Linked DNA regions of Homo sapiens: all the other regions are linked to region 2. The links are contacts of gene promoters, found by promoter capture Hi-C in blood cells and fetal thymus (Javierre and others, 2016). All regions are on one chromosome and are shown on one strand. Each heading gives the region's core, a stretch centred on a gene start or on the middle of the fragment in contact. The rest is flanking DNA. Distances are from core to core; before and after follow the strand shown.

Region 1 (2,700 bases), core at 106-2,605, 180 kb after region 2:
CGGTTTGGTCTGGAAAGGAGGGACAACTCGAAGCAGGGAGGGGGCTTCCAAGTCACAGGTAGGTGAGAGAAAAACAGCTGCATTCTTTTGAGTTTCTGTTTAGCCTTTTCAAAGAGGCAACCAGATATGCATTTATCTTAATGAGGAGAGGTATGACTTTGAATAGAATGGGAGGCAGGTTTGCCCTAAACAGTTCCCAGCTTGAATTTTCCCTTTAGCTTAGTGATTTTGGGGGCCCAAAATGTTTCCTTTCACAGTAGCAACTATTAGATTTAAAAAAATTGTAATTTCCTATTTACTTTTTTCTTGTAATTAACTTCTTGCTTTACTTTTGAGACAGGGTCTTGCTCCGTCTCCCAGGCTGGAGTGCAGTGGTGTGATCACAGATCCCTGCAGCCTCCACCTTCAGGGCTCAAGTTCTCCTCCTGCCTCAGCCTCTTGAGTAGCAGGGACTGTAGGAGTGCACTCCATGGCCAGCTAATTTTTTTTTCATTTTTTTAGTAGAGCTGAGATCTGATTATGTTGCTCTTGGTCTCAAACTCCTTGCCTCAATAAATCCTCCTGCCTTGGCCTCCCAAAATGCTGGGATTACAGGTGTGAGCCTCTGTGCCCAGCTTTGTTTTATTTTTGTACCTAATATTTACTCATAGTTTTATATTCTTTTTATTAAAAAGAGTTCCCTAGCCTTTCAGAAGGAACTGCCGTCTTCCAGTTATTCTCCAAAATGAGGAACACTAAGGGAAAGAGGAGGGACACCAATATATGTTCTCTAGGCCTTTTAGAAAACATGGAGTTGTTCCTTTGGCCACAACCATGCAAATCTACAAGAAAGGTTATGTTGCAGACATCAAGGGAATGGGAACTGTTCAAAAATGCCCCACACATGTTATCATGGTATTAGGGACTGAAATGGGATATAAGTTGAAAAGAGACTAAGGGATTTTTGAAATTAAATGTTAGGCAATTTTTAAAAATAAAAGAGGGCCAATAAGCCCAGGCCTTACACCTGCACTGTGGTGAGGTGCTCAAGATTGCAGAGGCAAACCTGTGCAAAGCTTCTGCCAACTCAAGGCATTCACTGAATGCCCCACACATGTTACCACGGCAAAACTGGAAGAGCCTATCAACAGTGTTCTTGGACACAAACAAATTAAAGGCAAGATTCTTGCTGAGAGAATTAATGTGTTTATTGAGCATATTAAGCAGTCTAAGGGCCAAGATAACTTCCTGAAGCATGTAAAGGAAAAGGATCAGAAAAAGAAGGAAGCAAAAGAGAAAAGTACCTGAAGTGCCAGCCTTCTCCACTTTGTGAAGCTCACTTTGTGAGAACCAATGGAAAGAAGCCTAAGTTGCTTGGAACCTATTCCCTACGAATTCATAGCATAATAGCCGTTAAAAAATAAAAGGGGGGGAGCCCCCTAAATTGAATAGACTTCAGGCCCTACAATATCCAGATCTACTTCTGATGATGTTTTATTTCATAAGCTGGGCAGTAAGTCATGCTGAGTATTCTTTAAATGATTCTCTATATTATTTGGTTTACTCCAAACAGAAAATAGCAAAACATTTTGTCTAAGAGGCATTTCTTTATCTGTCCTTGTCCTGATGTTGGATGCCTATGACTTCACCGATTGCTGTAAGCCCTTGAGTTGGCAGAAGCTTTGCACAGCTTTGCCCCCTGCCATCCTGAGCACCTCACCACAGTGCAGGCGTAAGGCCTGGGCTTATTGGCCCTCTTTTATTTAAAAAAATTTCCCAACATTTAATTGCAAAAATCCCTTAGTTTCATTTCTACTTTACTCTATTTCAGTCCCCAATGCCAAGTTCGTTCTTTTTGTAAGTATCTTCTGAAGGAGTGACTCACCATTTACTTCTATTGGAATCCAAATTTTGCAATACTCACGAAGTTGCAAATAATTAAATTAGGATATCTTAGAATCTCATAACCAGGGAGAGATTACTGTAAACTCAACCATATTCACCACTATTTATTGCATGTCTGCTTCATGCAAACCTTGGTTCCATGTGCTGGGGGAACACAAATGTAGAGCTTATTTCTGTCCCTGAGCTGATGAGATAAGAAGTTGCCTAGAGGCCGGGGGCAGTGGCTTACGCCTGTAATCCCAGCACTTTGGGAGGCCGAGGCGGGCGGATCACGAGGTCAAGAGATAGAGACCATCCTGGCTAACATGGTGAAACCCCGTCTCTACTAAAAATACAAAAAAAATTAGCCGGGGGTGGTAGCCGGTGCCTGTAGTCCCAGCTACTCTGGAGACTGAGGCAGGAGAATGGCGTGAACCTGGGAGGCGGAGCTTGCAGTGGGCCGAGATCACGCCACTGCACTCCAGCCTGGACGACAGAGTGAGACTCCGTCTCAAAAAAAAAAAAAAGAAAAGAAAAAAGAAATTGCCTAACTAAGTTATAAGTCAAACCGCTGTGACTGCTGTACAGAAAAGGCAAATATAGTGTATGGGAGCAAGAGAAGTGAATGATTGATTAGGATAGGTGAAAGCTGCAGAGAGGAGATATATTTAAGTTGGACCTTAAACACAATAAAAGATTTCTTCAGCTGAAAAAAAATTCCATTTATGTTAGAAAGTTTTTAAAAAAGTGAATATGGCAATTTATAAAAAATTTTCATTTTGAAATGTTACGCTTCTTGATTTTCCATGACAGAAAGTGTGTGTACACACGTGTTTG
Region 2 (2,700 bases), core at 199-2,698:
AGTTACAGTGAGCTATGATTGTGCCACTGCAATCCAGCCTGGAGAACAGAACAAGAAGAACCTATGTCCAAAAAAAAAAAAAAAAAAAAAGTGAATGAATGAATTAATGTCTTCTTAGCAAAATCCAGAGAACGTGTTTTTGGGCTTCCTTATGCAACTTCTGGAATGTTGAAGTGGATAGCCTGAGCATTGTCCCACAAAATGGGGCTAATCTATCCCAATCCCCACGAGCTATAAAGCTGTTTGCAAGTTCAGCCATTGAAGTCCCATTGGCCCAGTTAAATTCTCACGTTTGGCCTCCTGCACTACCAGCTTTCCTTAGTGTCTGGGCTCTCAAAACTTCTACGTGAGAATGGCCTGGGGTACTTTAGTTAGAGATTCAGATTCAAACCCAGGGTGGGGGTGTTCTTCATGGTGCCTGGGATGAGTCTTCCAAGGACCATTTGGAGAAACAGGCGCTGATGGTATTTTGCTTCTGTTCAGTCCTTCACTGACAGAGAGCCTGCAGGGTTGAGGAAGAAGGCTCTGTTTTGAAGTGTGGATCCCTCCCTGCAATGGTCTCTATTTGCATCTTCTTTACTCCAGGCTCACCTAGCCAAATGTTGAGTTTTCCAACCCCTCTGGGTATGAGATTGCTTTGGGCGATCTGAGATCTGCAAATGTCTGAGAACGAGGAGCACATGGGCACGCTGATGACTGCCCTGCAAACTGCCTGGCAGCCAGGGTCCTCCTGGGCCCTCCTTTAAAATAACATATACATAAGCCGGCCTGGAGGCCCAGGCGGGAAGATCACTTGAGCTCCGGAGTTCGAGTCCAGCCTGGGCAACATAGCGAGACCAGAAAATAAGCAAGTAAGTTACTCTCTGGGCTGTCGTAACTTATTTTTTCTTTTTCTCCTGCAAATTGCAACTCAGAACATTTGGTCTGCCAGACTGAAATATGGACTTCTGTTCCAAATATCCAGACGTTACAGTTCCCACAGGTGGCCAGGAGAATGCTGGAACCTTTGGCGGAGACGGTCTGGTCTTGTCCCGCAGCCCGCGAGGGTCCCCCGCTATTTGGGGTCAAGCAGATCCCCGGGGCGCTCTGGCCACCCCTTGCGGCAGCTGGTGCGGCCTCCTCGGAGAGCTCCGGGCCGGCGCCCGGGACACCCCGCCGCCCTCCCTGCCGCCCCAGGGACGAGCCCAGCGGTGCGGAGAAGTGGGAGGCTGGAGCCTGCTGAGGTCATTTCCTGTGCCTCTCCGCGAGCTGCCTGGAGAGCTGAGCCCAGCGCTCTGCCTTTAAGGAGCGGGCGGGGAGCCGAGGGGAGGAGGGCGCCCGGCGGAGCGTTGAATGGGGCGCAGCAAGGCTCGGCCGGGCTTTGTGCAGCGAGCCCGCGGGCACCCCTCCCGCTCCAGCCTCGCCCCGCCCCGCAGCCCACGACCCCTGCTGCCGGGGAGGGGAGAACCGGCGGCAGCCCGGGACTCCGGCGAGAGCGACGCAAGGTCGGCTGCGGCGGCGGCCCGAGGGCGCCCGTGTGCCCAGTGCGCGGCGGGGACGGCCGCGAGCTCGCTGGAGGTGAGCGACCCGCGCTCCCGCCGCTGTGGTGGGCTGGGGCTGCGCCGCGGCGGAGGGCGTCAGGCTGCGCGCGGGGGACGGCCCCTCGGGCCCAGAGGACGATCCGGAGCAGGTGCCTCCCTACCTGGAAGCGAGCTCCCAGCGGCGGGGAGCGCTGGAGCGCGGGTCTGGCTTGGGAAGCCGGGCGCCCCAGGGGACTCGCGCCGCGAGGCCAGGAGGAGCCTCCCCCGGGAGTACCTGGACTTGGGGATCGGTCAGATCCAGCCGCTCCTGGGAAGGGCCCTCGGAGCGGACGTGCAGGCTGCCACCTTGCTATCGGTGCTCGCTCCCTTTCACCCCTTCCCGCACCCCTCCCCATCTCACCTCAGGTTATTTCTTCTGTGATTTCTGAGTGTTGTCTTTGGGACCCTATGGCTCAGGCTCGACTCCTAGGAGCAGGTCATTCAAGCAGAAAAGAAAACAGGTTGGGCGCCGAATGACACAGAGCATTGTGTCCTAGGAGTCTTAGCGAGGACTCGGTCACCAGGAACCAGGGGCCTTAGTGGGGGTGGCAGAGGCGGTGAAGAGCCTCATCTGGAAGGAAACTCCTCTCCTTGTGGGATTTCTGCTTGCCAGGATATCTCCTCCATAGCTTTTACTATGAATCCACCTCATAAAACTCTTCCAAGACAGAGCCTTGGTTCAGGTAAAACACTTGAAAGACCATTTAAAAAATTCAGTGGGAGAATTATCAGTTCCTTCATCAAACTGTTTGGACTGTCTTCTATGTGACAGACACTGTGTATAGGGCTAGTACCATCACTGAACGCTTTATAGAACATCGGTATTAGTGTTTCTGCATATTATTGGCCCCATTTTTCCAAAGGAGGAAGCTGGGACTCTGAAAAGTTGTGATTTAGGCCAGTTGCAGTGGCTTATGCCTGTAATCCCAGCACTTTGGGAAGCCAAGGCAGGAGGAGAGCTTGATGCCAGGAGTTCAAGACCAGCCTGGGCAACATAGGGAGACCCTGTGTCTACAAATAAATAAAAATTTAAAAATTAGCTGGGTGTGGTGGTGTGGGCCTGTAGTCCCAGCTAACTTGGGAGGCTGATGATCCTGTCTGTTAAAAAAAAAATTGTTGTGATATGCCCATGGTCACATAG
Region 3 (2,700 bases), core at 53-2,552, 200 kb after region 2:
ATCTTTTTCTTTTGGCTCAGCTGAGACTGTCCTAATTTCCTAAAAATAACACTTCAATGGGAAACTAAAGGAAAAGGAAATCAAAGAGACATATGAAACTCAAGAAACAAACAGTTTCAGAGCACCGATTTCCTAGGTGGTGACTAGCTGCCACAGATTACCTTGGGTGGCACTTGGCCCTTGTCCAACTCAACTTCGTATACAATGTTGCCATGCGTCCCAAGCTCAGGAGGATATACCTTGTGTATTTGGTCTCTTTTAGTTATAAGATGGACACTCAGTTTGAGCAAGCTTAAGTCCCAAACCATGCAATATTTTGCTCATAAACTCAAGGAAGGGTTGAAACTGGAAAGTGGGAATGGGCAGAGATGTATCTTAGAAATAACTAGAACTCAAGCGCCAAGCAACACCAGACTCCTCTCCCTCTACCATTGAAGAGTTCCTGCAGCCATTTCCTATTTTTAGAATTTAAAAAATTCCAGGTTTGGCTTGGGTCAAATGCTCACTGTGAAGCATTCAACTGTAGTTGGGTATTGGGTATTGAAACGTCTCTTCTACGGCTATCATATTCTCATATATGCTATTTTGATATCGCTATCATATTTTCATATTGTAGAAGAGGCATTTCAAATCAGTCAGAAAAACATAGACAATGTCATAAGTGGTGCTGGACAAATAACTATCCAAATGAAACATAAAGTTAGATTCTTTGCCTCACACCATGCATACAAATGAGTACTATGTGGACTAAAAGGCAAAAAAAGTTGTGAAAATATTAGAAAAAAATATAGAAGAATATCTTTATGCCCTTGGAAGAGGGATAGCATTCTTAAGACATGAAAAGCAAAAAGCATATGGGAAAAGAGGAATACATCCAAAAAGCATACCTCAAACAAAGTTCAAAGTCAAGTGATAATGGTGAACATATTTGAAATTGTTTTACGTTATGTATTCTAGAAAACGGACTTCGAGATACAGACATTTGCACACAGCAAATTTATTAGGAGGACTGTTAGGATTGGTATCTATAGGGGAGTGAGAGAAGCGGGACAGGGCAGAGGGTGAAGTTGATCTGCGATGCAGTCACACTAAAGGGTTAGGTGATCCTGTTCCACAGAGAGCTCTGGAGCTGAGCTGTCTTGAATTGAGGAAAGGAGGTTGGTCTTTAAACACCCGCAGTGACCAGTAATTGGGTGTGGGCAGCTTCCAGGGAGGGGGCATGACCTGGGTGAGGGCAAGTTCTAGATAAAAACTCAGCTGAGAGTTGGCAGCTGTGTACATTTCCAGCATCTGGGAGAATAAGTGCTTCATTTCTTTTTCTTTTCTTTTTTTTTTTTTTTTTTTCGGTAGAGACAAGGTCTCTCTCTGTTGCCCATGCTGGCCTTGAATTCCTGGGCTCAAGCAATCTTCCTGTCTTGGCCTATCAAAGTGCTGGGATTACAAGCATGAGCCACTATGCCTAGCTGTATGCTTCATTTCTAAAGGGAGTATATTAGTCTATTCTCACACTGCTATAAAGATCCTACCCAAGACCGGGTAATTTATAAAGAAAAGAGGTTTAATTGGCTCATACTTCCACATGGCCGGGGAGGCCTCAGGAAACTTACAATCATGGTGGAAGGTGAAAGGGAAGCAAGGCACATCTTCATAAGGTGGCAGGAGAGAGAGAGAGTGCAGGGGAAACTGCCACTTTTAAAACCATCAGGTCTCATGAGAACTCTCTCACTATCACGAGAAGACAATGGGGGAAACCACCCTCATGATTCAGTCAACTCCCACCAGGTCCCTCCCTCAACACATGGGGATTACAATTTGAGATGAGATTTGGGTGGGGACACAGAACCAAACCATAGGAGGGAATCTGGGTGGTGCAACACAGCATCTGCTGCAGATGTATATGTATATATGACCTATCTTATATTTACATAGATAATATGTATCACACAAAAGAGTAGTACCCATATTTTTATTCATTTTTCTTTCGACTTGGGGTCTCGCTTTATTGCCCAGGCTGATCTCAAACTCCTGGACTCAAGTGATCCTCCCACCTTGGCCTCCCAAAGTGCTGGGCTTACAGGTGTGAGTCACCACTCTCAACTTATTATCATATAAAGAACTTCTACTTCTCAATAAGAACAAGACACAGAACCCAACAGAGAACTTTGCAAAAGTTATAAATAGGAAATTTTCAGAAGAAACGCAAATGGCCAATGTACCTAAGTCAAGATATTTAACCTGACCAGTGATCAGAGAACTGCAAATTAAAACAAGATGCCATTATACCATTTTAAACCATCACATTGTCAAAAATTTGAAAGCTTAGCAAATATTGGCAAAAATATAGAAAAATAGATATTTTTATACACTGCTGCTATGAGTGGAAGAAATGGTGGAGCCATTTCTACCAGCAATTCAGCTTCTTAATATCTGCAGTAACATTAGCCTATGTATGTAAAGAGGAGGCATTGTTCATATTAGCAAAAAAATGGAAATAGCCTAAAAGTCCATCAGTTGGCGAAAAACTAATCTGTGGTATGATTATACAATCTGACATGATTATATAATAATTATATACTAATATACTTATATATACTAATATACTTATAAATATATACTTATAAAATATATACTTATAGAAATATACTTATATACTTATAAATAATTATATACTAATCTCTGTATGATTATATGATGAAATAA

Evidence for each region. Contacts are between HindIII fragments. The CHiCAGO score rates a contact against its expected background, and 5 or more counts as called.
Region 1: a fragment that was not itself captured here is called in contact with the fragment with the promoter of PLEKHH1 in region 2 in 3 of 17 cell types (M1 macrophages, M0 macrophages and M2 macrophages); the score reaches 9.0 in M1 macrophages.
Region 3: a contact is called between a fragment that was not itself captured here and the fragment with the promoter of PLEKHH1 in region 2, in 3 of 17 cell types (M0 macrophages, M2 macrophages and M1 macrophages). The highest score is 6.3, in M0 macrophages.

What each region holds. Positions count from the first base shown.
Region 1 is chr14:67,713,821-67,716,520 of GRCh38, forward strand. All of the region lies in intron 1 of RDH12 (retinol dehydrogenase 12), which reads left to right. It also overlaps a transcript of GPHN not described here and the pseudogene RPL21P9. Among named protein-coding and RNA genes, the nearest start is that of RDH12, 13 kb to the left of the region's middle. The HindIII fragment of the contact is 604 bases long and covers 1,054-1,657 here.
Region 2 is chr14:67,531,842-67,534,541 of GRCh38, forward strand. It overlaps PLEKHH1 (pleckstrin homology, MyTH4 and FERM domain containing H1), which reads left to right and starts at 1,449. Exons shown (of 29, transcript NM_020715.3): 1 at 1,449-1,557. It also overlaps a transcript of GPHN not described here and a transcript of TMEM229B not described here. RefSeq lists a silencer at 1,073-1,542. The HindIII fragment of the contact is 32,076 bases long and covers 1-2,700 here.
Region 3 is chr14:67,735,764-67,738,463 of GRCh38, forward strand. It overlaps a transcript of ZFYVE26 not described here. Among named protein-coding and RNA genes, the nearest start is that of RDH12, 35 kb to the left of the region's middle. The HindIII fragment of the contact is 2,027 bases long and covers 290-2,316 here.